Linked DNA regions of Homo sapiens: regions 2, 3, 4, 5 and 6 are each linked to region 1. Evidence: promoter capture Hi-C in 16 types of primary human blood cells and fetal thymus (Javierre and others, 2016). All regions are on one chromosome and are shown on one strand. The core of a region is centred on a gene start or on the middle of the fragment in contact, and the rest is flanking DNA. Distances in the headings are between cores, read along the strand shown.

What was found. Contacts are between HindIII fragments. The CHiCAGO score rates a contact against its expected background, and 5 or more counts as called.
Region 2: a fragment that was not itself captured here is called in contact with the fragment with the promoter of GPR3 in region 1 in 1 of 17 cell types (erythroblasts); the score reaches 5.2 in erythroblasts.
Region 3: a fragment that was not itself captured here is called in contact with the fragment with the promoter of GPR3 in region 1 in 1 of 17 cell types (M0 macrophages); the score reaches 6.3 in M0 macrophages.
Region 4: a contact is called between a fragment that was not itself captured here and the fragment with the promoter of GPR3 in region 1, in 1 of 17 cell types (M2 macrophages). The highest score is 6.9, in M2 macrophages.
Region 5: a contact is called between a fragment that was not itself captured here and the fragment with the promoter of GPR3 in region 1, in 2 of 17 cell types (naive B cells and total B cells). The highest score is 6.5, in naive B cells.
Region 6: a contact is called between a fragment that was not itself captured here and the fragment with the promoter of GPR3 in region 1, in 10 of 17 cell types (erythroblasts, naive B cells, naive CD8 T cells and 7 more). The highest score is 8.2, in erythroblasts.

What each region holds. Positions count from the first base shown.
Region 1 is chr1:27,390,088-27,394,608 of GRCh38, reverse strand. It overlaps GPR3 (G protein-coupled receptor 3), which reads right to left and starts at 1,987. Exons shown (of 2, transcript NM_005281.4): 1 at 1,872-1,987; 2 at 1-815. The coding sequence starts at 810. RefSeq lists enhancers at 1-396, 1,225-1,760, 2,298-2,834, 2,835-3,371 and a silencer at 1,784-2,283. The HindIII fragment of the contact is 9,449 bases long and covers 1-4,521 here.
Region 2 is chr1:26,993,150-26,997,670 of GRCh38, reverse strand. It overlaps TRNP1 (TMF1 regulated nuclear protein 1), which reads right to left and starts at 3,979. Exons shown (of 2, transcript NM_001013642.3): 1 at 3,059-3,979. The coding sequence starts at 3,884. The coding sequence ends at 3,201. RefSeq lists enhancers at 1-109, 3,482-3,982, 4,207-4,366, 4,120-4,521 and silencers at 3,647-3,706, 3,737-4,066. The HindIII fragment of the contact is 2,158 bases long and covers 1,011-3,168 here.
Region 3 is chr1:27,028,862-27,033,382 of GRCh38, reverse strand. LOC101928391 (a long non-coding RNA gene) reads right to left here and starts at 1,625. Exons shown (of 8, transcript XR_007065559.1): 1 at 1,554-1,625. The HindIII fragment of the contact is 2,970 bases long and covers 1,025-3,994 here.
Region 4 is chr1:27,080,426-27,084,946 of GRCh38, reverse strand. No RefSeq gene overlaps it. Among named protein-coding and RNA genes, the nearest start is that of TENT5B, 70 kb to the right of the region's middle. The HindIII fragment of the contact is 3,206 bases long and covers 1,112-4,317 here.
Region 5 is chr1:27,682,456-27,686,976 of GRCh38, reverse strand. It overlaps the pseudogene CHMP1AP1. Among named protein-coding and RNA genes, the nearest start is that of IFI6, 13 kb to the right of the region's middle. RefSeq lists an enhancer at 4,225-4,519. The HindIII fragment of the contact is 2,520 bases long and covers 1,349-3,868 here.
Region 6 is chr1:27,652,521-27,657,041 of GRCh38, reverse strand. No RefSeq gene overlaps it. Among named protein-coding and RNA genes, the nearest start is that of LINC02574, 7.9 kb to the left of the region's middle. RefSeq lists a silencer at 2,129-2,531. The HindIII fragment of the contact is 5,418 bases long and covers 1-4,521 here.

The DNA of each region.
Region 1 (4,521 bases), core at 738-3,237:
ACCCAGCAGGCAGTAGACAGTGAAGGGCAACCAGCAGGCGGCAAAGGCTCCAAGCACCACGGCCAGTGTGGCAATGCCCTTGCGGGTGGCCACATAGTGGGAGGCAGGCAGCAGGTGCCGCTGAAGGGCAATCTGCTGGGCATGGCGGCAGACGATGCGGCAGATTTGGGCGTAGAGCTGCAGCATGATGCCAAACACCATGAAGAAGGCAATGGCCAGAACTACCAGATGGTTCTTGGAGAGTGGATAAACCACGCCACATGTGGTCAGGCCATCCAGGCAGTTCCAGGCCAGCACAGGCAGCAGCCCCAGGCCCAGGGCACCTCCCCACACTAAGGCCAGCATCACATAGGTCCGTGTCACTGTTGTCTCTGAATAGTAGGTGAGGGCATTGTACAGAGAAAGGTAGCGGTCGACAGTGATGGCCAGTAGACTGCCGATGCTGGCGGTAAAGGCCATTGCCAGCACGCCAACCAGCACCAGGCTCATCTCCGCTGAGCCGATGCAGAAGACAGCAGCAAAGTGCAGGACCAGGCCCAGGCCTGCCAGCAGGTCTGCCACGGCCAGGCTGCCCACCAGCAGGAACATGGGGGCACGGAAGGCAGGAGTGCCCACGATGATGGCCACCACTAGCGCATTCTCGCAGGACACCAGGGTGCCTGAGATGCAGAGCACCACATCCCAGGCCTTAGGCGAGGGCAGTGGTGCGGCTGGACCTGTGGGCCCCTCTGCTGGGCCCACGCTGCTTACATTCACGTTGCCTGAGCCAGCTGAGAGCCAGGCCAGAGGGCTGCCTGCACCCCACATCATGGTACCTGCAGGAGAAAGGCCTTGTGAGAAGCTGACCAAGCTGGGTGATGGGAGTTGGGGTCTGGAGGGGGTGAGGTGCTTCTCAGGATACGTGGTGGGAGTCTCTCCTCAGGATACCTGATAGGGTCCCAATGCCTTATCCCCACATTCATGCCCTGGGGCTCTTCCCAGGATACCGCTGTCCCCTCCAATGCCCCCAGGCCTCTAAACAGGGGTCTCTTCCTGGGGATCCCTGTCCTAGGTCCTGCAGGTCTCTTTTTCCCACGTGTGTGACCAGAGGAGAGACAGAAGAAGGGGTACTATAAGTGGAAGAGGGCCATAGGATCCAGGGGATGCCCCCGAAGGCTCAAGATTGGGGTAGGGAAACATCTACCCCATCAGGGAGACTGAGCAGCTCCGCTCCCTCCCATCAGAGATGATGATGCTAGCTCGTGCCTGAGGCTCCCAGACCCCTCACGATTTTCAGTACTGCCAGCCTTAGACTCCGCCCCCAGGGAATGCGCGTGAAGCTCCCGCCAGCCATCACCCCGCACTCCCGCGGTAACACCTGGGAACTCAGCCCCCCACCCCCCACCCTCCCAGACTTCTGTTCCTGGCTGGACCCTTCTTTCCGCCTGAATCTCTAGGTCTCTGGGCAGACCCCCCTGCTGGAAGACTGGATCCCTGAGTCAGATGCCTCCTTCTGCCCGGACACCTGGATTTTGGGCCTGACTCTGCCTCCTGCCTGGATACCTGGATTCCTAAATTGGACACCTCCTGCTGTTCGGACCCCTGGGTCCCTGCCCCAGACGCCTCCTGCCGGCTTAACCTCAGATGACCATCAGTCCCTCCAGGGCCTCGGGTCCCTGCAGGAATGCTTACCCTTCGCCGGGTCATCCAACTCAACCCCAGCACTCGAGCACTTGGGCCCAAGCCTGCTAACCCAGAATCGCCTAAACCCAGAATTCCCACCTCGAACTCGAACCCCGGCCGGCCACTAGGAGCCTTCCGCCGGCCCAGTGCCCCAGCATCCTGCGTGCCCTTCAGGACCCCTGGTGCCCGCGGCGGGGCCCGCTACTCACCGCTCAGGACCAGGCGCGGCCGGGCCGCGGGGAGGCTCCGCTCGGGTCCTGGCGGCGCAGGGCGTGCGTGGACCCCGAGAAGCCCCCGCGGCCGCGGGAGAAGCGGCGTGAGTCACCCCGCCCCGCCCCCGGCCACCGGTTCGGTGACGTCAGCGGTCCGATCAGCCAATGGGCGCGGCGCGCTGGGGCGCAGCGCGCGTTGCGCGGCATAGTAATAAGGCCTCGCACCGCCCGCTCCCCCATTCATAAAAAGCGACCGTGGCTGCGGCCCCGCCCCCTCCCGAGTCCGCCCGCGCTGTCCTTGACGCGGCGCCCTCTGCGGGCCGGGGGTTTCAGAGGCGCCGGTGCGAGAGCCTTGAAGTCTCAGAGAGGCTGCAGGGAACGTGGTGGAAGAGTGGAAAGGGGGCCCGGCTAGGCTGTGGGGTGATGGGACCCTTGGGTGGCAGAGAGGCTGACGAGATCCAGGTGACGAAGGAAGAGCTTGTGATGGGGCTGGTTGGGCTTCCCTGGTGAGAATGACAGGGTTTCCAAGATGATGGGGCCCTGAGGTGACGATGACAGGGAGCACGAGGGAGCGGGGAGGTGGGTGGCAGTGACGACATTAGCATGGTGACAGAATCTTGGGGTGGGGGGTGATGGCCGTGGGACGCTAACGGTAGAGGGGAAGCCCTCAGGGCAACCATGGCAGTGTCAGGGTGACTATGCAGCAGGGGGGAGTTCAGGGACCCCGGGATGGCAGAGGCAGCGGCCTGGGAACATGGAGTGTCCAGGTGACTTCAGGTCACCATTACCCTGTCAGAATGGCTGGGGTACTGAAGCGACAATGCTAAGCCATGAGGACTGTGGGGCCCTGGAACGAAGATAGCAGGTGGCTGTGGTGAGTGGGCTCCAGGGTGAGGGGCACAGGGTAGAGGGTCTGGACTGACAGTGACCAGGCAGGTAAGTTGCTGCCAGGGCAAGTCCCGTGATGCCGGGGCTGGGATAAGAGCTGGGTGACGTCACTCATGTCAGCCCAATAGCGCCCTCACAGCACCGGAGGGGTGGGCCTGGCAAGATTTCAAAACCTGAATTATTTATTCCAGTATCTAGAAAGCCAGCGTGGAGGGGGTGAGGGGTGCACTTCCCTGAAGCAGGAGGAGATGGGGAGCCGGGAAGAACTTGGAAGCAGAAAGCCTGGCAGCTCAGTCCTCAGGGCAGGCCCCTCTCAGCCTCCTATTTTAGGCATCCTGATGGGTGGAGCAAGGAGAAAGAGCTCCCTCTTCCCCAACGCCATCTGCCCTTAGTCCAGGGGAACCACTCTGGGCAGACTTCTCCAGATGTGACAGATGTGGCCAGTCCTGCGGCAGGGGGACTGGCTGCTCCTTCTCCCTGTGTCTCTTGCCTTGATGCTCCCTGGAATCATGCAGGCCTGTGGGAGGGGAAGATGAGGTTAAGAGGCCTGAGGATCCCAGGCCCCACTGGACACCCCCATCACAGCACCATCACTGCAGCCCCCATGGTCAGCCTCCACCAGGCAGGTTTTGGGTTTGAGTGTGAGGCAGCAGAAGGTCAAGTGGCAGGGAACATGGGAGGAGGAGGGGGTCGGAGCTGGAGAAGAGGATTCATTTCAGGTTGGATGTGGTGAGTTTAGGGGGCTTAGGGGGTGGAAGTGTCCAATCTCAGTTTCTCCATTTCCTAGCTGGGTGACTTTGGAGAGTTTCTTCAGCTCTCTGTGCCTATTTCCTCATCTAAAACACAGGGATAATATTAGTACCGGCCTCATGGGGTTGTTGAGTGGGTTCTACTTGCCATTGGCCATCAATGTTACAGCTGGATAATGAGGGACACCTGGGAGGTGTAGGCATGCAGGTGGCAACTGATGTTTTAGGGGTAAATAATGTCACCCAGGGGCGGGAGCAGAGAGTGAGGAGTGGCTTCAGGGGCTCCTCCTCCTGGGCTCTTGCACCTGACCCCTCTGACAACAACCCTTCTCTTCATCCAGGTCTCTGCTCCCGAATTACTTCTGAAACAGGCTGCTCTGAACTCTCAGATCGCCACTGGCCTCCCCATCACTCTCCCTCCCCTTCTCTTGATTTATTCATTTTTGGAGGATGAAGCACTCTTGAAATTATAAATGAATTCATGTTTGTTTGTTTTACTACATGTCAGCCCCACTAGAATCTAAGCTCCAAGAGGATACTGACTATGTCCCATTTCTGCTAGAGAACAGTGCCTGATATGTAATGGGTATTGAAGAAATAATCATGGACTGGATGATTGACCTAAAAGGGAACAACCAGAGGAAAAAAGGAAAACAGAGAGAATAGTAATATGCCTGGTGCCCAGGAAGGTGGGGGTGTCAGAGAGAGGATCCAAGGGCATCAGGGCCCCAAGACTCAGGGTCAGGGATCCATTTACTCCCCCATCAGAGCTGGGTCCCTACAGAGTTCTGGTCTCTGCGATGGGTGAAGGCTGCTGGGAGGTTGGCATCAAAGGGGGGTATCAGGGACTATCTTCTACTACTCTGAATGGCAATTATATATTTTTTAAGTTTTCGTAGCTTATTGATCCTCTGGTGAAAAATCTTCACCATTGCTGCAGATAAAGCCATTCCTGTTTGCCAGCACCAGCACCACACTCTTGTGACTCCCTGGCTGTCGTCATTCTGTTC
Region 2 (4,521 bases), core at 840-3,339, 400 kb after region 1:
GTGGCCGTCAGTGTCCTCAATGCACAGGTCCCCCAAGATCCCTGTACTCAGTCCTGTCCCCAGAGCTGGGGGCCACCAAGAAAGTGTTCTGAAAGTCATGTGGGGAAAAGGGGTGGGTCAGCCTTCTGTCCGAGGCTAGAGCTGGCCTCCAACAAACTGCTCAGCCCCCAAGGGATCCCCTGGGATGGTGACAGCCAGAAAAGCCTGCCTGGAAAAGAGCCAGGAGACATAAGCCCTTAAAAGTAGAGACCCTCCTCTGATTTGGCTCTGCTTTCTGAGCCCCTATCAATATTTGCTAATTAAGAAGAAAATGGAGGCAGACGGGTGAGCTTTTTTTTTTTTTTTTTTTTTTCTTGAGACACAGTCTTGCTCTGTTGCCCAGGCTGGAGTGCGGTGCAACCTCCACCTCCCGAGTTCAAGCAATTCTTTCTCAGCCTCCCGAGTAGCTGGGATTACAGGCACCTGCCACCACGCCCAGCTAATTTTTGTTATTTTTAGTAGAGAAGGGGTTTCACTATGTTGGCCAGCCTGGTCTTGAACTCCTGACATCAAGTGATTGGCCCTCGTGGGCCTCCCAAAGTGCTGGGATTACAGGCATGAGCCACCGCACCCAGCCTGAATAAAGCCAGACGGGTGAGCTTCTAGAGGGGGCCCTGGAGGGTCAGGCAGGTGTGGGAGGTGCCTTTTGTTAGTTGGCTATGTGGTAATGGACATAGCACTAACTAGGAGCTGGGGTTCAAGTCTACATGTGTGTGCCCTGGCCAGGAAGCTTGATGAGGAGCAGTGGGACATCTGGAAGTGGAGGGAGGGGGCAGAGCTGCCTGTGACACCAGGACCAATCTCCATTTACTACCCTCTACTTCACACACACACACACACTAGCCAGTGTCGTCTCTAATTCTCTACTCACCCACCCCACCCCCAAATCGGGACAAGCTGATTACAAATAAATCCTGGAGAAAGCCAAAACTGTGATGGCACCGAGCACTTTACACCATTAGCTAAAAGCTTCTCCGGACCAAGTGCCCCCTCCCATGCAACCCAGAAAACAAATGGTCCTGGCTGCAGCCCAGCACCAAGGCCTGAGCTCAGCTCTTTCCAAGATGTCCTGTCCTCTCTAAGCCTCTAGACCCCAAATGACCCAAGTGGCTTTGGAAGGTGTTCCCTGTTTGGAAAGACCAGAGGATGGCATTGCCCCCTTCATTACTTCCCTGGGGTTCCCTAACTTTGTCAGAGGCTCTGAGACTCCCTCCTGAACCTCCCTTCCCCAGCTAAGAAAGGGTTCAGGAAAGCCTTGCTGTTAGCCGAGAAACCAGCCAAAAAGTTTGGTATCCAGGGAGAAGGGCTGATGAGGGAGGATCCCATAAGGGCCCCAAGCCTCAGCCTATCAGAGCAGTGCACCTGACCCTCCCAGATTCCTGTGGAAGGAAGCATCCTCCCCACTTCACCCCATTCCCAAGCCCTGACTCAAGGAGGGACTGAGGAAAGAGGCCCAGAGAGGGGGCAGAGTTGTTCTAAGTCACAGAGCAGACAGGATCCAGAGGACAACTCTCCCTAGCCCCTGCCCAGGGTACTGTGGGAGGTGCACACACAGGCCAGGGACCTTGATTCTTCCCTCACTGGCATGTGACCTTGAGAAATCCCCTCTCCACCCTGCAAAAGTAGGACTTTAAATTAGCTCATGGCTCTATCAGCAAAAGCAGTGCCTGTTTCCAGGTGTGAGTTAAAATAATACATTATCAGCCAGGTGCAGTGGCTCACACCTGTAATCCCAACACTTTGGGAGGCCGAAGCGGACAGATCACCGGAGGTCGGGAGTTCAAGAACAGCCTGACCAACATGGAGAAACCCGGTCTCTACCAAAAATACAAAATGAGATGGGCATAGTGGCACATGCCTGTAATCCCAGCTACTTGGGAGGCTGAGGCAGGAGAATCGCTTGAATCCGGGAGGTGGAGGTTGCAGTGAGCCAAGATCGCACCATTGCACTTCAGCCTGGGCAACAAGAGCGAAACACTGTCTCAAAACAAACAACAACAACAAAAAAATTATCTTTCCATGATTTAGTGAGGAAGAAGAAGGACCTCTGCCCTGGGTTAACGTCACCACAGCCCCTCTGGGAGGTTAAGAGATCCACTTCGCAGACTGATAAGTGAGAGTGAAATTAACTCAGCTGGTGAGCAGCAATGTGGTAGCCAGGTCATTCACAGTGGGGACAGAGGAATGGGAGACTGAAGGGCATCTGGACAGGAAGAGAAGCAGATCTCACCTCAGATCTGGCTCTTTAAGGCCCCCCTTTCTGGAAGCTGATACCACACCTGCCCCCTTGGGGCCTGTTAAAGGGTATCACCTGGTTCCAACCTGGCCGAGCCATCTTAGTAACAGGTTGGGAGTTAAGCCTCTAGGTTCTGCTATGTAAGGATCCCTGGGTGAGCAGGTGCCAGACATCCTGTCCTGGTTATGTGAGTCAGGCTGTAATTTTTGCGAACCTGCATGACGGCATAAGAAAAGCTGTCTCCTAGAAGAAGAAGGGCCTAAGTATGAAGAGAACAAATCCTAAACCTCTCTGGGATTCCGTCTCCCCAAAGGTGAAACAGGCCTAGAGGGGGAATTCAGTGGTACAGCCCTGTGCCAGCCTCCACCCCATCCTGGGGCCTCATTATTCTGTCCTCCCGAAGGCACGGAGCTGGGCGGCGCCAGGAAGCAGCATCCTCAAGGGCAAGACTGCTCACAGCTCCGAGGGGCCCGGGAAAGGCCACGCAAGTGGGGGTGAGGATGGGGGGTGCTGCATCCGTGCGGCAGGTTCCAAGTGGTAAAAGTTTGCCGCCAACCCGTTCCTGGGATCTGAGCCCCCTCAAGAGTCCAACTCTTATAATGGAGACTTGATGCTACCACCTCTCACTCTCCAGATGGTCGGGAGAGGCGGCAACAGAAAGTGGCAGCTTTACTAGGGACCCAGCAGACGCCAGAAGCTCCAGGGAAGGGAGTTCCCGGGCCCTGGACCAGCCCCCCACACGCCATGACCGACCCTCGAACGCACCAGCCGCTAAGACCGCACCTCAGCCTCCTCTACTGGGCCCCTGGCCCCCAACTGCCTCTTCCTGCGGATCCGTAGTCCTTCCAGCCGGCGTCCGCGATCAGTCGGTCGGTCGGCACCTCGGCGAAGCTTGTCGGGGTGGCCAGGGGTCCGGGCGTGGAGGTCAGCGCTGCGGGGAGGCGGGGCCGCGGGGCGGGCTGCGGCGGAAGGGCGAGTCGGGCTCGGGGCCGTGGCCGCGCCGCAGTCGCCCGGCACCCCAGGGCACGCAGCCGCCCAGGCCCAGCGCCGAGGCCAGCAGCGCGGGGGGTCGGCCGCGGCGGCCGCGGCGCGGGCCCTTCTTGAGGCGCGACCCGTGAGCCGCCAGGTAGAGCTCGGCCTGCGCCACGCCGCCGCTCAGGCGGCTCAGGCTCTCCGCGCGGTGCGCCAGGCGCAGCTCGGCCGCCAAGAAAACGCGGTGCAGCTGCAGCACGCGGCTCTCCAGCTCCGACACCAGGCGCCGGCGGCCCTCCACCTCCAGCAGCCGCCGCCGTGCTTCGGCCAGCTCCAGCGCGCGGCCCCCCGCCCCCGCAGCCGCGCCAGAGCCCCCTCCGGGGCCGGCGAGCCCCGCGATCCCGCTAGCGCCCTGGCGCCAGCGCTGCAGCTCCTGGTCCTCGGCCGCGCCTGCTGAAGCCCCAGCTGCGTCCGGCAGCGGCGGGGACTGACCCGGGGTCGGGGTAGGAGTCAAGGTCGGAGTTGGGGGCGGGGGCTGAGAGGACGGCATGGGATCCCAGGGCGGCGGCGGCGACCTCTGCTCTGCCGTCCCCTCCTGGGCCCCCGGGCCGCAGGCGCTGATGCGGCAGCCCGGCATCCCCCGCCCCCCACCGGCGGTCTGCGGCTGTAGGTGCGCAGGGAGGATGACCACAGCACACCCGAACAGCTAGACACGGCCACAGCCCCCACCCCAGAGGCGCGCCCGCCGTCCGCGCATCTTATAGAACACGGGGCGGAGCGACGGGCGGCACAGCCAATCAGAGACAGGCACGCCCTGAATCCGCCCCGCCCCCCCCCCCCCCCCCCGCGCTCTGCACATTCAGGGCATTCCCCAAACCCTTCAGGTCCTGCCCTTCGCCGGATTCTGCTCCGCTAGGGCATCCGGTCCCCTTTCGCCTCTCCCCAAATTTTGGGTGCAAAGGGAGCCTCATCTTCCCTGGTTTGGCCCCTCAGAGTCATAAGCTCTGGTAGCTGGTGTTTAGAAATTCACGGAATCCGGTCTCCATCCGGGGGAGGGTCTTGCCTAAGGCCTCTGTGCGAAGAGAGCCTGGGCTAGAACGCAGGAGGCTTGACTCCTTGTGCCGTGCTCCTCCCACACCTCATGCTGCCCTTGGCCGAATCAGTTCTGCCCGGTCTCTCCTGGGCCATAGGGCTCTCAAGGACCCCCTTTCCCACCTCACTAGGGCAGTGGAAGGGTTAACGCAGAGGGGCGACTGCCGTCCTGGTGGGACGGG
Region 3 (4,521 bases), core at 1,260-3,759, 360 kb after region 1:
CTTAGGAAATAAAGCATAAAGGCAAAGTGTATTTTCAGAGGCACTAAAACTTCTCCCCTTCCCTGCTGGGCGGGTGCTTTGATTTGGAGTATTCTTGCCCTAACCCCTCCCTCCCACGGTACCCAAACACAGGCCCCAGTTGCTCAAGCAGGAAAGACAGGGAGCTGTGAAAGGCTCAGAAACTTCATCTGAGACCCTAAGGAGTGGGGGTCAGAACCTTATCTGGCTTCTGAGCTTGGGCAAGACCCTTCCCCTCGGTGGGCCTGAGCTTCCCCCTCTGTATAATGGTTTAGACTTCCAGCTCTGGTATTCGAAGTTAAGGATCCTGATGGTGGCCAGGCGGGGTGGCTCATGCCTGTAATCCCAGCACTTTGGGAGGCCGAGGCGGGTGGATCACTTGAGGTCAGTTGTTTGAGACCAGCCTGGCTAACATGGCGAAACCCTGTCTCTATTAAAAACACAAAAGCAGGCCAGGCGCAGTGGCTCACACCTGTAATCCCAGCACTTTGGGAGGCCGAGGCGGGCGGATCACCTGAGGTCAGGAGTTCAAGACCAGCCTGGCCAACATGGTGAAACCCCGTCTCTACTAAAATATACAAAAATTAGCCGGGCGTGGTGGCAGGCGACTTAATCCCAGCTACTTGGGAGGCAGAGGCAGGAGAATCGTTAGAACCCAGGAGGCGGAGGTTGCAGTTAGCTGAGATAGAGCCATTGCACTCAAACCTGCGGGATAACAGCGAGACTTCTCTCAAAAAAAAAAAAAAAAAAAAATACAAAAGCAGCCGGGCGAGGTGGTGCACACCTGTTATCCCAGCTACTCCAGAGGCTGAGTCAGGAGAATCTCTTAGAACCTGGGAGGCGGAGGTTGCCGTGAGCCGAGATCGCGCCACTGAACTCCAGCCTGGGCAACAAAGGGAGACTGTCTCAAAAAAAAAAAAAGGATCCTGATGGAAATTTAGAGCCCCACGTTCAAGGGTTGGAATGGTATTCCTGGATAATCCAGGCCCAGAAGACCCAGAAAGCTTCTCCTAAAACATGTATGGCATATCAGGTTCAGGTCCTGGAATGTCCTCTGAGCTCTAGCACCTTGTCCTAGTGACTTGGCCTCTCTGGGCCTCAGTTTTGCCATCTGTCAAATGGCAAGAACACCGAGTTTATGAGGATAAAACATGACAGTGGCAAGAGAAGTGTCCTGTAAACTGCAGAGTGCAGTCCTCCTGGGAGGGAAGGACAGTTGTTGTTGTTGTTAGGGGCTCATGTTTTGCCTTCCAGCGGCGCCGGGCGAGCAGATTAGCCTGGCCTCGTTCTCACGGTGGGAGACCTCCTCCGTCCTCCCCAGGAACCACGGCCCCTGCCCTGCCCAGATCAGCAATAGCCCTCCATAAGCCTCCCACCTGGAGGGAGGTGGCGGGCAGGGAACAGCCAGGTAACCGTGGGCTCCTCACTGCAAGGGCCCAGCTCAGATTGAAGGCAGAGGGAACGAGCGAGCGAGGAGGAAGTGGGGAGAGACGGAAGGAGGGGCAAGCGAATCAAAGCACTAGGGATTTACTCACCCAAGCAGGGACAGGGAAGGAGATGGGGCTAGCAGGGCGGGGGACGCCCATGCGCCGCCCCTTCAGAGGACAATTCCCGGGGCCTCACTCCCTCCCACTCTCTCCCTCCCCCGCGGCCCATTCCCGGTGCGACTCCTCCCGTGGGAACTGCTGTCGCTGCAGCGGGCGCCCTGCCACGTGGATGCCAGGAATCAGACTGGGCGGCTGCGGCAGGGCGGGCGCTTCCCTGGGCAGCGATCAGGGCAGGCCTGGGAGAGGGCTGACCCTCACTGGGGTCTGGGGAGAGGGCGGCTCTGGGCGGAAGGGCACCTCGGGAACTGGACGCCCTGGGCTTCGCAGCCCCTCAGATCTGCAGCCAAGGTCATCTTTTCCCAGCTTGAGGAGCAACAACTGGGCACCACCTGGGAGCAGGTTAGAAATGCAGGCTCTCAGGTCTAGCCCCAGACTTGCTGACTCAGAACCTGCACATTCCAAGGAATGTGCCCCAGGTGGCTCCCGGGCACTTTCAAATTTGAGAAGCCTTTTTTCTACAAGAGTAGGCCTGAGTATTTACAGGTTTAAAAAGACGCGGTGGCTCACGACTGTAATCCCAGCACTTCGGGAGGCCGAGGCCGGCTGATCACGAGGCCAAGAGATGGAGACCACCCTGGCCAACGTGGTGAAACCCCGTCTCTACTAAAAATACCAAAAAAAAAAAAAAAAAAAAAAAAATAGCTGGGCTTGGTGGCGTGCGCCTGTAGTCCTAGCTACTCGGGAGGCTGAGGCAGGGAGGATCGCTTGAACCCAGGAGGCAGAGGTTGCAGTGAGCCGAGATCGCGCCACTGCACTCCAGCCTGGTGACAGAGCAAGACTCCGTCTCAAAAAAAAAAAAAAAAAAAAAAAAAAAGACAGACAAGGCCAAGGCCAGGCACGGTGGCTCATGCTTGTAATCCCAGCACTTTGGGAGGCCGAGGAGGGCGGATCACTTGAGCCCAGGAATTCAAGACCAGCCTGGGCAACACTGTGAGACCCAGTCTCTACAAAAAAAAAAAAAAAAAAAAAAAAATTAGCCAGGTGTGGTGGCGTGCACCTGTAGTCTCAGCTACTGGTGAGGCTGAGGTGGGAGAATAGATTCAGCCCAGGAGGCAGAGGTTGCAGTAACCCTTGATTGAGCCACTACACTCTAGACTGGGCAACAGAGCGAGGCTCTGTCTCAAAATAAATAAATAAATAGGCTGGGCGCAGTGGCTCACGCCTGTAATCCTAGCACTTTGGGAGGCCGAGGCGCACCTGAGGTCAGGAGTTTAAGACCAGCGTAGCCAACATGGTGAAACCCCGTCTCTACTAAAAATACAAAAATTAGCCAGGCGTCGGCCAGGCGCGGTGGCTCACGCCTGTAATCCCAGCACTTTGGGAGGCCGAGGCGGACGGATCACAAGATCAGGAGATCAAGACCATCCTGGCTAACATAGTGAAACCCGTCTCCTCTACTAAAAATACAAAAAAAATTAGCCGGGCATGGTGGTGGGCGTCTGTAGTCCTAGCTACTCGAGAGGCTGAGGCAGGAGAATGGCGTGAACCCAGGAGGCGGAGCTTGCAGTGAGCCGAGATCACGCCACTGCACTCCAGCCTGGGCGACAGAGTGAGACTCCATCTTAAAAAAAAACAAAACAAAACAAAAGAAAAAAATTAGCCAGGCGTGGTGTCACATGCCTGTAATCCTAGCTACTTGGGAGGCTGAGGCAGGAGAATCACTTGAACCCGGGAGGAAGGGGTTGCAGTGAGCCAAGATCACGCCATTGCACACCAGCCTGGACAATAAGAGTGAATAAGAGTGAAACTCCATCTCAAAAAAAAAAAAAAATTAGTAGTGTATAAATAGACCACATAATCTATGAATTGTATTCCATTATAGGAAAGGGGCATTGCAAGATACTTGTTACAAAAGGGGGCGTGAGGCCTGCTGGGGCTGGGAACCCACTGAGGAACACTCACTCCTGTTTTCAATCAACAGCATGGCTCTGAGGAAACAGAAGCAGGAACTAAATGGCGCTTGAATCTGAGGAGCTTCTACCCTGGCAGGCGAGATGAGATAGAGACGCAAATCGCCACCTTCCTGAGCCTCAGTTTCTTCACCTGTGAAATGGGCTTTCTCACCACTCACCTCTGCCTGCCTCCCTGCAGGGTCGGATCAGATGGGCCGAACCAGCTTCTAGACAGGGAGGGGCTTCATGAGCCGCTCCACACCTGAGGGAAGGGAGATTGGAACATCTGCCCTGCTCACATCGTGCCAGGGACAGCTCAGGCTTCTGTGCCTATCTTGGTCTTCAGACTCCAGCCTCTGGCCCTGCAGATTCTCTCTCAGGGCCTCGTCTGCTTTCTCTGGTGTCCCTCTCTCTTCCACCTTCCTTCTCCACTCCCCTGTATCCCCGCACCACCGAAATCCACACCTGTCTGAAGCTTGTACCAAATTAGCAAATTGGCAGTTTCTGAGGAGGGCAAGCCAGCCTTGACTACATACCAGACACTGCTCACACACTGGGTCTTTTATGCTAGCCCTGAGAGGTAGATGGTGATGACCTAATGAATAGAGGAGAACACCAAGGCTCAGTGAAGGGGAAGGGTTCGCACCCAGGTCACCCAGCCAATAAGAGGCCAAGATGGGATAAGAACTGGAGCTTTGGCCGGGCATGGTGGCTCACGCCGGTAATCCCAGCACTTTGGGAGGCCAAGGTGGGTGGATCACCTGAGGTCAGGAGTTCAAGACCAGCCTGACCAACATGGAGAAACCCCATCTCTACTAAAAATACAAAATCAGCCAGGCGTGGTGGCATATGCCTGTAATCCCAGCTACTTGGGAGGCTGAGGCAGGAGAATCGCTTGAACCCTGGAGGTGGAAGTTGCGGTATGCCGAGATCACGCCATTGCACTCCAGCCTGGGCAACAAGAGAGAAACTCTGTTTCAAAAAAAAAAGAAAAAAAAAAAAGA
Region 4 (4,521 bases), core at 1,465-3,964, 310 kb after region 1:
GGAGGAAAGATGAAAAGGTGTCTGTGTGACTGAAGGCATTAATTCTCTCAATAAATAGTCAGGCAAGGTTACCAAATCAAATGAGAATGAATCTAGAAAGGGAAATAGGAAATTTGAAGAAAGAGGAAAAGAAGTGAAATAGTTACCTTGAGAAAGAGGAGAAGAAAGAAACTGTTCGTGTTAGAAAAACAGTAGAGTTTTCCGTGTCGAGTCCCTTTGATGTTTGAGAACAGTGGCACTGCTCAGCTCAGCTGTACGAATTTGTCAGTGATCTTCAGATACTTGAGTGCAGGCACCAAGACAGATGGGTTTTGCCAGGCAAATAAGATGAAGTCAAAGAGGGGTTATGGAGTTCCAGGTATTGGCAAAGAGATAGTGATAATGATAAACCATAGACCCTAGAAGAGACCCAAAGAGAGGTTAAGACTGGAGGAAGTTGAGAACTAGGATTAATGTACTGGACATATCCCTGGACGGGAGCATTATTAAATGGGTCTCTGTTAGTTGGGGATGAGGCTAAGGTGCTGTCACAAAGCTGTCCCCAAATACAGCAGCTTCACATAAGTGTTTTTTTCTCATGTAACGATCCTGAGATAAGTGGTCCAGGTTGTTGGGGCCACTGTGTGCCCTGCTGTCATTCAATGCCAGGTTCCTTCCATCTCATTGCTCCTCTGACATCCCCTAAGGTGTCCTCCTAATTTTCATGGTCAAACCATGGTCCGTGTTTAAACCACGGGAAGGAAATGAGCATGAAGGAGAAGGCACCTAAATTCTAAAGCCTGTAGTTGGAGGTGACACACATCAATTCTGCTCACATCCATTGCCAATAACTTATGACATAGCCCCACCCAGCTGCAGGGAGGCTGGGAACTGTAGTCTCTAGGTGGGCAGCTAAGTAACTCTACTGTTTATACAAAAGAAAGAGAGAATAGATTTTGGTGGACACCAAGCAGTCTTTGCCATAAAGGGTATTTTAGCAAATGAGCATGATAATTGCAATATGTTATCTTGTAAATTTATTTAATAATTCCCCTGTTTTGAACACATTTGCCTATTATAACATTTTACCTATTATAACTAGTTTGCCAATTGACATCTCAGTACATAAGCTTTAGGGAGTACAGTTTCTGGTAAACATCTTCCTAAAAACATCTTCCTGAAAATCAATGACCAGCTAATAATGAAATCACCAGTCAAACGTAAGTGAAATGAGAGGTAAGCCTGTTTTTTCCTGAGATCATTTGCTAGCCAGGTATACAGGGGCTTCAGGTTGGGTGGTCTCACAAAGTCCAGAACTTAACCAAGAAGGAGAATCTGATATGAGACCCCAAAGTGTCATACTCTCAGAGTAAGGGTGAACCAGAAGAAACCAATCCCCCACCCCCAGGGGCCTGCAAGGAAATATGCCCTGGTGCCACAAAGAGCAGGAAGAAGACAATCAGATATCTGAGAAGTTGCATCCTGACACTACCCCTTATGCAGAATCGCACAAGAAACTCACATCACCTCCCATGCTCTACACATCTTCAAACTGTGAATTCAGTTGAAAATGACCTCGGGCTTGTAATGCCCCTAGTACCTGATAGAAGCAAATGCAAATGTTCTCTGAAGGAATGCACCATCATCCTCAGCCTCAAGATTTCAATAAATTATGTGTTTTAAAAATGCAAACTGGGCTTTTAAGAGACAGGGTCGGGGCTGGGCCTGGTGGCTCACGCCTGTAATCCCAGCACTTTGGGAGGCCAAGGCTGGTGGATCACCTGAAGTCAGGAGTTCAAGACCAGCCTGACCAACATGGAGAAACTCCGTCTCTACTAAAAATACAAAATTAGCCGGGCATGGTGGCACATGCCTGTAATCGCAGCTACTCGGGAGGCTGAGGCAGGAGAATCGCTTGATCCTGGGAGGCGGAGGTTGCGGTGAGCCAAGATCGCGCCATTGCACTGCAGCCTGGGCAAAAAGAGCAAAACTCCGTCTCAAAAAAAAAAAAAAAAAGAGAGAGACAGGGTCGGCTGGGTGCAGTGGCTCACGCCTGTAATCCTAGCACTCTGGGAGGCTGAGGCGAGTGGATCACAGGGTCAGGAGTTCAAGAGCAGCCTGGCCAAGATGGTGAAACCCCGTCTCTACTAAAAATACAAAAACTAGCTGGGCGTGGTGGCGGGAGCCTGGAGTCCCAGCTACTCAGGAAGCTGAGGCAGGAGAATCGCTTGAACCTGGGGGGCAGAGGCTGCAGTGAGCCAGGATCAAGCCACTGTACTCCAGCCTGGGAGACAGAGCAAGACTCCGTCTCAAAAAAAAGAAAAGTGAACTGTTAACCACGCAAACAAGGGAATAAGGTACCATGAGAGACCATAAAAGGCAGATATTTTTAAGTATGTTAAAATTCAGAGACCCCATAAAGAGAATGAAAAAATGAGGCATAACATGGAATAATACTTGAACTCATAAAACTAATAAAGAAGTTCTATCCAGAATATATAAAGTACTCCTACAAATCAATAAGAAAAAGACAAATCCAACTGGGCGCGGTGGCTCAGGCCTATAAATCCCAGCACTTTGGGAGGCTGAGGCAGGCAGATCACGAGGTCAGGAGATCGAGACCAGCCTGGCCAACATGGTGAAACTTCATCTCTACTAAAAATATGAAAACTAGCTGGGCGTGGTGGCGCATAGGCTGTAATCCCAGCTACTCAGGAGGCTGAGGCAGGAGAATCACTTGAACCAGGGAGTCGGAGGTTGCAGTGAGCCGAGATCACAGCACTGCACTCCAGCCTGGCGACAGAGCAAGACTCCATCTCAAAAAAAAGAGAAAAAGACAAATCCACTGATAGAAAAATAGACAAATTGGCACACCTGTAATTCCCAACAGTTTGGGAGGCTGAGGCCTACAGATCACTTGAACCCGGGAGTTCAAAACCAGCCTGGGCAAAATGGTGAGACCCCCATCTCTACAAAATACACAAAGATTAGCCAGGTGTGATGGCATAAGCCTATAGTTCAAGCTATTCAGGAGGCTGAGGTGGGAGGATGGCTTGAGTCTGGGAGGTCAAGGCTGCAGTGAGCTGAGATCATGCCACTGCACTCCAACCTGGGCGACAGAGCAAGATTCTGTCTCAATTTAAAAAAAAAAGAGAAGAAAAATAAATACATATAATAGGCATGTGACAGAAAAAGAAAATTCAAATGGCTAATAAATATATGGAAAAGTGCTTCACTCCATAAATAAGCAGGGAAATGCAAAAACTGTAATGAAATACCATGATACATGTGCCAGTTAGGAAAATTCAAAAGCCTGGCAATGTCAAATAGTGGCGAGGACGTGGTGCAGCACGGCCTCTCATATGCTGCTGGCGTATATCAGTATAACGACCTCCCGGGAGAGTTTGGCATTTTCCAGTAAAGTAGTATAAATACTCAGGCCCTAAGACTCAGAAACAGGACAGGAAAAATCCCCTAAGAAGTGTATGCACTATGTACCAGAAAACATGTCCACAAATGTTCAGAGTAGAATTGTTTATGTACACTCAAAGTGAAATAATTCAAATGCCTGTCAATAGTAAAGTGGTCCCTGCACTTTGGGAGGCCAAGGTGAGCAGATCACTTGAGCCTAGGAGTTCGAGACCAGCCTGGGCAATATGGCAAGACCTCTGTTTCTACAAAAAATACAAAAATTAGCCAGGCATAGTGGCACATGCCTGTAGTCCCGGCTACTCGGGAGGCTAAGTCAAGAGGATCACTTGAGCCCTGGAGGTTGAGGCTGCAATGAGCCAAGATCACATCCAGCCTGGGCAACAGAGTGAGACTCCATCTCCACAAAAAAAAAAAAAAAAAAAAAAAAAAAAATATATATATATATATATATACAGTAAAGTGGATAATTTTTATAATCATACTATGGAATATTAAACAGCAATGAAAACAAACAAACTAGAACTTCACAATAACATATATTGATGGTGTAAATCCAATGGTGAACAAAAGAAGCAAACACAAGAGATCTACAGGGAATGATTCCATTTACATAAAGTTCAAGAAGAGAAAAATCTAAATTATATTGTATAGGGATGGATAAACTAGAAAGAACCATAAAACTATACTGGCAGACAGAGATTATCATAAAAATACAAGGATGATTACCCTTAAGAGGAAAGGAGGGATGTGATTGAGAAGGGGCACGTGGGGATTCCTGTGGTGCTGGAATTATTTCCGTTTCTTGAGTCGGGTGGTGAATACACAGATGTTTATTTTATAATTACACATTATGCACTTCTAATTTATGTACCTTTCTGTTTGTGAGCTATATTTTATAGTTAAGCTTTTAAACAGAAAGAAGTTATTATGAATAGCTTTATGCTAATATATTTAAAGATTTAGGCAAAATGGGCCAGATGCAGTGGCTCACGCCTGTAATCTCAGCACTTTGGGAGGCTGAGGCGGGTGGATCACTTGAGGTCAGGAGCTTGAGACCAGCCTGGCCAACATGGTGAAACACTGTCTCTACTAAAAATACAAAAATTAGCC
Region 5 (4,521 bases), core at 1,359-3,858, 290 kb before region 1:
TGCCTCAGGAGCAGGTGGACAGACCCATTGTGCAGAGCGCCAAGGAGAATGGCCTGGAGGTCCTAGACCAGCTCAGCCAGTTGCCCAAGGGTGCCTCTGCCGGGCGAGAGCTCCGTGTGAAGCCAGGAGGAACAGCTGTCAAGGGCGTTAGCCGCCCTGAGGAATTAGCCGCACCCTGCCGTGGGCACCGCCTCTGCTCTGTGATGTGCCGCAAGGCTCCTGGCCTCCTCCCCTCCCCCCGGCATCTTGCCTTTTTGTTGATCCTGCAGAGCTGCAGCTGGCAGCTACTGTCGCCCAGCTCCTCTCACCTGCCTGGCCTAGGTGGCCCTGGAGTTGTTCCTGTTTTCTTAGGTTGGGCGGTGGATCTGTGTCCTGGTGTTGAGTAGGGGTGACTTCTGTGACTCTGGGGCCAACAGCTGGGAGGTCAGCAGGCTCTCTTTTGCTCTCTGTGGAGTCGATGGGGTCTGGCCAGTGGGTGCCATGTAAACTTTTGCTCAACACTGCGGGGACCTTCAGACTCCGTGATAGGAGACATGCTGCTCACTGTCAGCCAGTGGGGGTCAGGGCTGCCCTGTTTTCCAGGCAGCTCCTGGAGAAGGCCTCTCCACGCACCCTGCCCCTACCACCAATGGGCAGGAGGTCCCACCATGTGAACGGACACAGCCTGAAGAGGCACCAGTGGCTCGTGTGTGCTGGGGAACGTCAGGTGCCACCCAACACTGTCTTGGTGGCATTTACAGATGATGACCCTCCCCCTCTTCCTCCTCTGTCATTCTAGGGGTGGGGTCTGGGCTGCTCCTGACAGCTGGCTGAGCCTCCCTGGGCCTCCTGCCCTCAGCTCCCCTGGTTCTTAAAGCTGCCCAGTCCATGGGGACAGAAACTTGCCCAGCTCCAAATCCAGGAGTTTCCACCCTGGGGTCCTCATCCTTGCTCATCTGCCACCTCTGGAGGTGCCTTGGGCTACATGGGCTGTGCTGTTGTGTCCCCTCAGCAGGGGGTCTGTCCATGCACTGGCCAGAATTGAGCATGTGCGTGGGGCCTCCTCGGTGATGCTGCCTGTGTGCCAATCTCTTCTGTCTCTCTAAATAACTGGGTGCCTCCCCCGACTGCACCCCATCCTACCTTCCCAGCGTGGAAGCCAGAGTGGCTGGTGAAGGGAGCTTAGGAGAGTCACCTTCAGCTGGGCCAGTGGCTCTGTGAGGAAAACCTGTGCTGTGGCCACGCGGGCACCACCAGCTGCAGCTCATCAGGAGGACTCGGAGAGGGGGACGGCAGAGAGAGGGCTTTGGGCACAGCCTGCTGTTTTGTTTTTTCTGTTCCCTAAAGTTTACTTCATTTTCTTGAAGCTTCCAGGGTTTTGTTGTTGTTTGCCAAAGTAGAAAGGACAGGTGGCAGGCGGGGAGGGTGAGTCCCAGCCCCTCCTCTGCACCAGGGCTGCCGCGGTGTCATGGCTCTTATGAAGGGAAGCATAAGACCCTCACTCAGTGCGTTTGGTTTTCTTTTCAGGATTTCAGAGCCCCTGGGAGGAGATCCCATTGGTGGGTCTGGACATGCGGAGGTCAAGGCACCATCTGGCCATGGTCCTCTCCAGCCTCCCCAGAAATTGACCCACATGCTGGGTGTTGAAACAAGGTCCCTCTATCCCTTGCAAATAACAGCTTTGGAATTAACAGCTTTGGGGAGCTACCTTGTCCTCCCAAGGGTGCAGGGCTCCACAGAGCCAAGGGCCAGGCAGGGGCTACCTCAGCCCTGTCTCCTTGGGCACCAAAGCAGGGATTTGTTGAAGGAGAGAGCCATGTTTGCCCTTTTCCTAAAATGCTGCTGTAAATAAACAGGTCCCCCAGCAAGCAAGGAAGCAAAGGAAGGAAGGAAGGAAGGAAGGAAGGAGAAGGAAAGAAGAAAGGAGAGAGAGGGAGGGAGAGAAAGAAGAGAACACTGATAAGGGTGAAACTAAGAGGAAAAAGAAAGGGGAGAGTCATGAGACTCGTCTGAGCAGGATGGAAATCCTTAGATGGTTATTAAGAAATAGGATGAGTAAAATAAAAATTAATGAGGTTTTAAAAAAGGAAATTAATGCAGTGAAAACAAATGTCTTTTTTTTTTTTTTTTTTTTTTTTTTGAGACAGAGTCTCGCTCTGTCACCCAGGCTGGAGTGCAGTGGCATGATCTCAGCTCACTGTAACCTCTGCCTCCTGGGTTCAAGCAATTCTCCTGCCTCAGCTTCCCAAGTAACTGGGATTACAGGGACCTGCCACCACGCCTGGCTAATTTTTGTATTTTTAGTAGAGATGGGGTTTTGGCATGTTGGCCAGGGTAGTCTTGAACTCCTGACTTCAGGTGATCTGCCAGCCTCGGCCTCCCAAAGTGCTGGGATTACAGTCATGAGCCACTGCGCGTGGCCAAAATAAATGTCTTAATACAACACTATTGAAGGTTGGGTGGACCAAAGAGAGTCTCTGATGGTCTTCAACATTAAAGGCCCCAAACCAGTTTGCTCTATTTCCTCCAGTTTGGTGGAATTTTAAAAGCAGGAAGGTAAAGATTTACAATAAGAAACCCTACCTGGAATTGCCTGGGGTGATGGTCAGACTGGTTAATCAAGGGAAGATTGACAGAGAGGCCAGAGTCTCCTGGCCTGGCCTCTGGCTAAGGACCTAAACACTTATTGCCCAAGAGAGAATAAAATGGTCTGGGGAGGGGGTGGAGAAGAGAAGTTCCCGGGACATAAAAATATACTTGGTCAACAGGATTCTGAAAGTGGGAATGTCTAAACAGGCTTTACGTAAAGGCTTAATGTAAAGTGGTTGTGTCTCCTTTACCTAATGTTTTATGGAAATGGGCATTGTATATGACAGGGTTGTTCCCTCTACCTAGAACTGTAAAACAGAAGGCATGTAAATCCACCCTTCTGGAAATTTTAGTTGGACATGCTAAATGGAAACCCAAGCCCACACTGTAGAGTAGAAGCTGGAGTGCTGATAGGGACAAGTTCTCCATTCGATAGCTCTTTGTGGAGCATTTGCTGGGGCTATGACAAAAGCCTATGAGTGGCTGGGCATGGTGGCTCATACCTGTAATCCCAGCAATTTGGGAGGACAAGGCAAGAGGATCATCTGAGGTCAGGAGTTCAAAACCAGCCTGGCCAACATGGGGAAACCGCATCTCCACTAAAAATTTGAAAATTATCCAGGAGTGGTGGTGGGTGCCTGTAATCCCAGCTACTCGGGAGGCTAAGGCAGGAGAATTGCTTGAGCCCGAGAGGTGAGGCAGAGGTTGCAGTGAGCAGAGATGGTGCCACTGCACTCCAGCCTGAGCAACACAGCAAGACTCTGTCTCAGAAAAAAAAAAAAAAGAAGAAGAAGAAGAGAAAAGGCTGTGAGCACCTGCAAGCAAAGACTACTGAGATTTTGGACTAGACAATTTCCACTTGAGGGGCACTTACTAACTTGTTACGGGACATTAACTGAAGCTACCCCTGTGACTGAAGGACATAAAATGATCTTGACACCTGAAATACCCATGCGATCTCAGGTGATGTCACAGAAACACTCAAATAGAGACAGCAGTGTCCAGAAGAGTTCCATAACAAAATGGAAATGGCTTATACAGAAGCATGCTACCTGGGGAGTGCCAGGAGGAGATAAAAGAAAGGAGCCTCTTTTCTGCTAGGACTGGTTTGCGTGAGGAGCTGCTGGCTTCTACAGTGTCCCATAACGGCTCTCAACTGGCCAGCAAACAGCTTGGTTTGTGGATGGCAGTTCCAAGGTGAATGGACAACATTCTGTTTGGAAGGCTGCTCTGTTGATCAAAGAAGTGTGAAAATAAATAAAATGTAAACCTTGTTGGAACCCCACAAACACCTTAAGCTTTGAGAGAGATGTGACTGTGATCTTGTAGCAGGACAAGCCACGGACAAAACCCCTCAGACACTGAGTTAAAGAAGGAAGGGCTTTATTCGGCTGGGAGCTTCGGCAAGACTCACATCTCCAAAAACCGAGCTCCCCAAGTGAGCAATTCCTGTCCCTTTTAAGGGCTTACAACTCTTAGGAGGTCCATGTGAGAGGGTCATGATCGATTGAGCAAGCAGGGGGTATGTGACTGGGGGTGGCAGGCACTGGTAATCAGATCGGAACAGAACAGGACAGGGATTTTCACAGTGCTTTTCCATACAATATCTGGAATCTATAGATAACATAACCTGTTAGGTCAGGGGTCAATCTTTAACCAGGCCCAGGGCATGGCGCTGGGCTGTCTGCCTGTGGATTTCATTTCTGCCTTTGAGTTTTTACTTCTCTCTTTGGAGGTAGAAATTAGACAATATGAGGGGTGGTCTCCTCCTTTAATCTGAGTCTCATATGGTTACTACTTCCGTTTCTCAGATTATAGATTAACTCGCTTTCTTGTTTGTCTTATTCTGTACAATGACTAAGAGAGTTACATGATGTCAGGAATAAAAACCACCCTTCTTCCTAATGAATGACCCTTTGTGTAGATTAACTTCCCCATTGTTGTCCTGCTTTG
Region 6 (4,521 bases), core at 932-3,431, 260 kb before region 1:
GTGAGTGAATCTCTACCCAGTGCTTGTCCAGTCCCTGCTTACATACCTCCAGAGGCAGGGAGCTCACTACTCTTGAAGCAGCCCACTCCGTTTGCAATTAGAAGACCTCTAATTCCTGCCCACCCCCAACCATTGCCGAAGAGATTCCCTGGAGCTGAGGCCCAGAGAGAGTGATTACCTTGCCTGAGGTAGTTGGTGCAGAGCCAAGACCTACTCAACTGTCCTGAGGGCATGTGCAAGCTCACCTAATCCTGAAAGAGCCCCTAGGTGTCAGCACTGGCCAGATCCCCCACAGCCTGTACCCATTTGTAGGCCTGGGACTTGAGCCGCCATCGCAGCCCATTTCCCCTTTGCTCAGGAGCAGCCAACCAGCATCTGCTGAAGACAGGGATAGCAGGTCCCCAGTCTGGGAGCGGGGAAGCTAAGAAGGAAGCACTTTCAGGTAGCACTGGACTTCTGTTGCCCCTTTCAACCCCCATGCCAGCCCTATAAAGCAGGACTTGTCGTTCCCATTTTACAGATGCGCAAACTGAGGTGCTAGTTACCTAAGATAACACAGCAAGATAGTGGCAAAGCCAGGCCTAACTTCAAAGCCTGACCTCTTTCCTCTGCCCCTCAGCTTGGTGCCTCTTGTCTATCTGCCCTACTTCCAGGCCAATTCTTTCCTAAGCCTCATGAGGTCCTGAAGTGTCCTGTGGCTTTTGTTCCCCAAGCTGGGTCCCGCCCACAGTGAGGACTCACCAGCTGTGCTTTGGCAGCAGCTAAGAGCTGGCTGAATAACAGGAGTCATCCCTTCCTTCTGTATTTAGTCACTCCCTAAAACTGCAGGGGACCCCGACCAAATTAGGTAGTGGCCAAGGAGGTGTTTTGGAGAGGCCAAGCCCCTGAAACTAGGCCAGGCCACCTATTTGCTGTATCACTTAGGTCTGTTTCTTTCATGGAGCCTCAACTTACCATCTATAAAGGGGGTGAATTATCCTTTCTCAGGGCCTCTGTGTGCAAGGATTCAGGAAAGCTGCTCTCCTCTCTGCCAGGCCACCTCACCTTTGCACCTTCACCTTGAGGAACAGATCCCCACCCCACCCCCCCCGGCCAGGGTCCTTTTGTTGGCAGAACTCCAGCATAAACTGCACATAACCTGATTGTTAATGGGGGCCACAGATCCGGGGTTGGGGGCCCAGCTCCCCAGCTTCAGCCCTTCCTGGCCTTGGTTCCTGCTGGGGAACAGGCTCTGTCATCATGTCTGCTTCCTCTTCTTTCTGTGGCCTTTGCAGAGCCATTTCCCAGGGGGCTCTGCCTCTCCTGCCTCCTGTCTCCTCCTCTGTCTTCCCACCCTTCTTCCTCACACAGTGTTTATCCGCGCCTACTCTGGGCCTGGCACTTGGCTCATAGAGCTGAATAAGCTCAGGGCCTGTCCTTGCAAAGCTCACAGTTTGATGGGGGAAAATGGACAAGGAAACCAAGTTACAATTTATTCACCCATCCCAAATCCTATTGCCCTCCCTGCCGCTACCCTCACCCCTGCAGTCTGCACTCCACGCAGTAGCCTGAGTGATCCTGTTAAAACGGAGGTCAGAACATGTCACTCTTCTGCTCAACCCCCTCGCCCCCCCCATGGCTCCTGGTGTCAGAGGAAAAGCCAATGTCCTTGCTGTGACCTACAAGGCCCTGCGTGATCTACCTCACTGCCTCCCACTCTCTGCTCTGATCACTCCCTTCCAGCTGCACTGGCCGCCTTGCTGTTTTTCAGCATGCCAGGCGTGCTCCTGCCTCAGGCCTCTGCATTTGCCCTTGGCCCTGCCAGGCATGTCTTCCCCCAGGTAGCCACGTGGTCTCCCATCCTTCACTCAGGTATCTCCCCCTCATCCAGGGGACTTCCCTGGCTGCCTATCTAAATATTACCCCTTAGTTGCCTTCTGCTCTTTTACCTGCTTTATTTTTTTTCTTAGCCACTACCAAATAACATGTAATTATTGATTTTCTTTTTCCTGCAAAGGCATAAATCCCATGAGGTCTCCTGAGGTTCCCCACCCCCAAAAACAAACAAAAAAAGGACAGAAGAGAGAGAAAGAAAAAGAATGCCAGAAAAATTCTGGAAAAAAAAAAAGGCAACACTCACTGACTACTGTTAGATAACAATATTTAAAGCCTCAAAAATTAAAACAACTTGGGGCTTGATGGGGTGGCTCACGCCTGTAATCCCAGCACTTTCGGAGGCCAAGGCGAGTGGATCACTTGCGGTCAGGAGTTCAAGACCAGACTGGCCAACATGGTGAAACCCCATCTCTACTAAAAATACAAAAATTAAGAGCCGGGCATGGTGGCTCACGCCTGTAATCCCAGCACTTTGGGAGGCCGAGGCAGGCGGATCACCTGAGGTCAGGAGTTCGAGACCAGCCTGGCCAATGTGGTGAAACCCTGTCTCTACTAAAAATACAAAAATTACCTGGGTGTGGTGGTGCATGCCTATAGTCCCAGCTACTTGGTAGACGGAGGCAGAGAACTGCTTGAACCCGGGAGTTGGAGGTTGCAGTGACCCAAGATCATGCCACTGCACTCCAGCCTGGGCAACAGAGTGAGACTCCATCTTAAAAAAAAAAAAAATACAAAAATTAGCCAAATTAGCCTGGCCTGGTGGCAGGCGCCTATAGTCCCAGCTACTCAGGAGGTTGAGGCAGGAGAATCACTTGAACCCAGGAGGCAGAGGTTGCAGTGAGCCGAGATCATGCCACTGCACTCCAGCGTCCTAGACGATGAAAAGAGATTCCATCTCAAAAAAATAAAATAAGAATAAATAAATAATTAAGTCTGGGCATGCTGGCTCATGCCTGTAATCCCTGCACTTTGGGAGGCCGAGGCGAGTGGATCACTTGAGGTCAGGAGTTCGAGACAAGCCTGGCCAACATGGTGAAACCCCTTCTCTACTAAAAATATAAAAATTAGCCAGACGTGATGGTGGGTGCCTATAATCCTAGCCACTTGGGAGGCTGAGGCAGGAGGATTGCTTGAACCCAGGAGGCAGAGGTTGCAGTGAGCCGAGATCAAACCACTGCACTCCAGCCTGGGCGACAGAGCGAGACTCGGTCTCAAAACAAAACAAAACAAAAAATAATAATTAAAACCACTTGGTTTGGTTCAGGAAGAGACAAACAGACCAATGGACTAGAATAGAAAGTCCAGAAATAGACCTAATTGCACGCGAGAATTTAGTATTTGATAAAGGTGTCCTCTCAAAGTGGAAAATGGACTCTTTAATAAATGGTGTTGGGACACCTAGGTAGCCAACTAGGAAAAAAAAAATTAGATCCGTGCCTCACACTGAGCACCAGGATGAGCTCCCAAGGGATAAAATATTTAAATGTTTGAAAAATCAAAATAAAACCGTAAAGGCACTAGAGGAAAACATGGGAGAATGTATAATCTCATAGTGGAGAAAGTTTAACCATGACTCAAAAATCAAAAAGCTGTAAAAAGAAAAGATTGATAAAGTCAACTATATAAAAATCAAAAACTTCTGCATGGAAAAACACTATAAATCAACGCATAAGACAAATGACAATCTGGGGGAAATATTTACAACTCTAATCACAGACAAGGGAACATCTCGCTTATTTAGAAAGAATTCCAGGAAATTGATTAATCTTATAGAAATAGAGGCCTAGGCCGGGCGCGGTGGCTCACGCCTGTAATCCCAGCAATTTGGGAGGCCAAGGTGGGCAGATCACCTGAGGTCGGGAGTTCAAGACCAGCCTGACCAACATGGAGAAACCCCGTCTCTACTAAAAATACAAAAAAATTAGCTGGGCATGGTGGCGCCTGCCTGTAATCCGAGTTACTCAGGAGGCTGAGGCAGGAGAATCGCTTGAACCTGGGAGGCGGAGGTTGCAGTGAGCCGAGATCACGCCATTGCACTCCAGCCTGGGCAACAAGAGCGAAACTCCATCTCAAAAAAAAAGAAAAAAGAAAAAAAGAAAGAAATAGAGGCCTAGCATATGAACTGACGGTTCCCAGAAAAGTAAATATAAGTGATTCTTAAACACATAAAAAGAAGCTCAAACTCAAAAGAAATGCAAACCAGAAAAACTAGACTAGAATATTGCTACAGTTTGAACATTACGCCGCGAAAAGCAGGTGCTGGGAACTTAACCCCATACAACAGTGTTGGGAGGTTGGGCCTAAGGAGAGGTGTTTAGGTCATGAGGGTTTCACCCTCATGAATGGATTGGTGGTGCTGTTATAGCAGGAGTGGGATTATTATTCTGGGAACAGATTCATTATAAAAGGGCAAGTTCAGTTCCCTTTTCTTCTCTGTCACCCTCTCTTTGCTCTTCCACCATGGGATGACACAGCAAGAGGGCCCAAGCCAGATGTGGGCCCCATGATCCTGGAATTCCCAGCCTCCAAAACTGTGAGCCAATACACTTCTGTTTATGATTAATTATCCATTCTGTGGGATTTTATTATAGCAGCACAAAATGGACTAAGATACGATGTCTTATCAGTCTGGCCAAAAAAACCCCA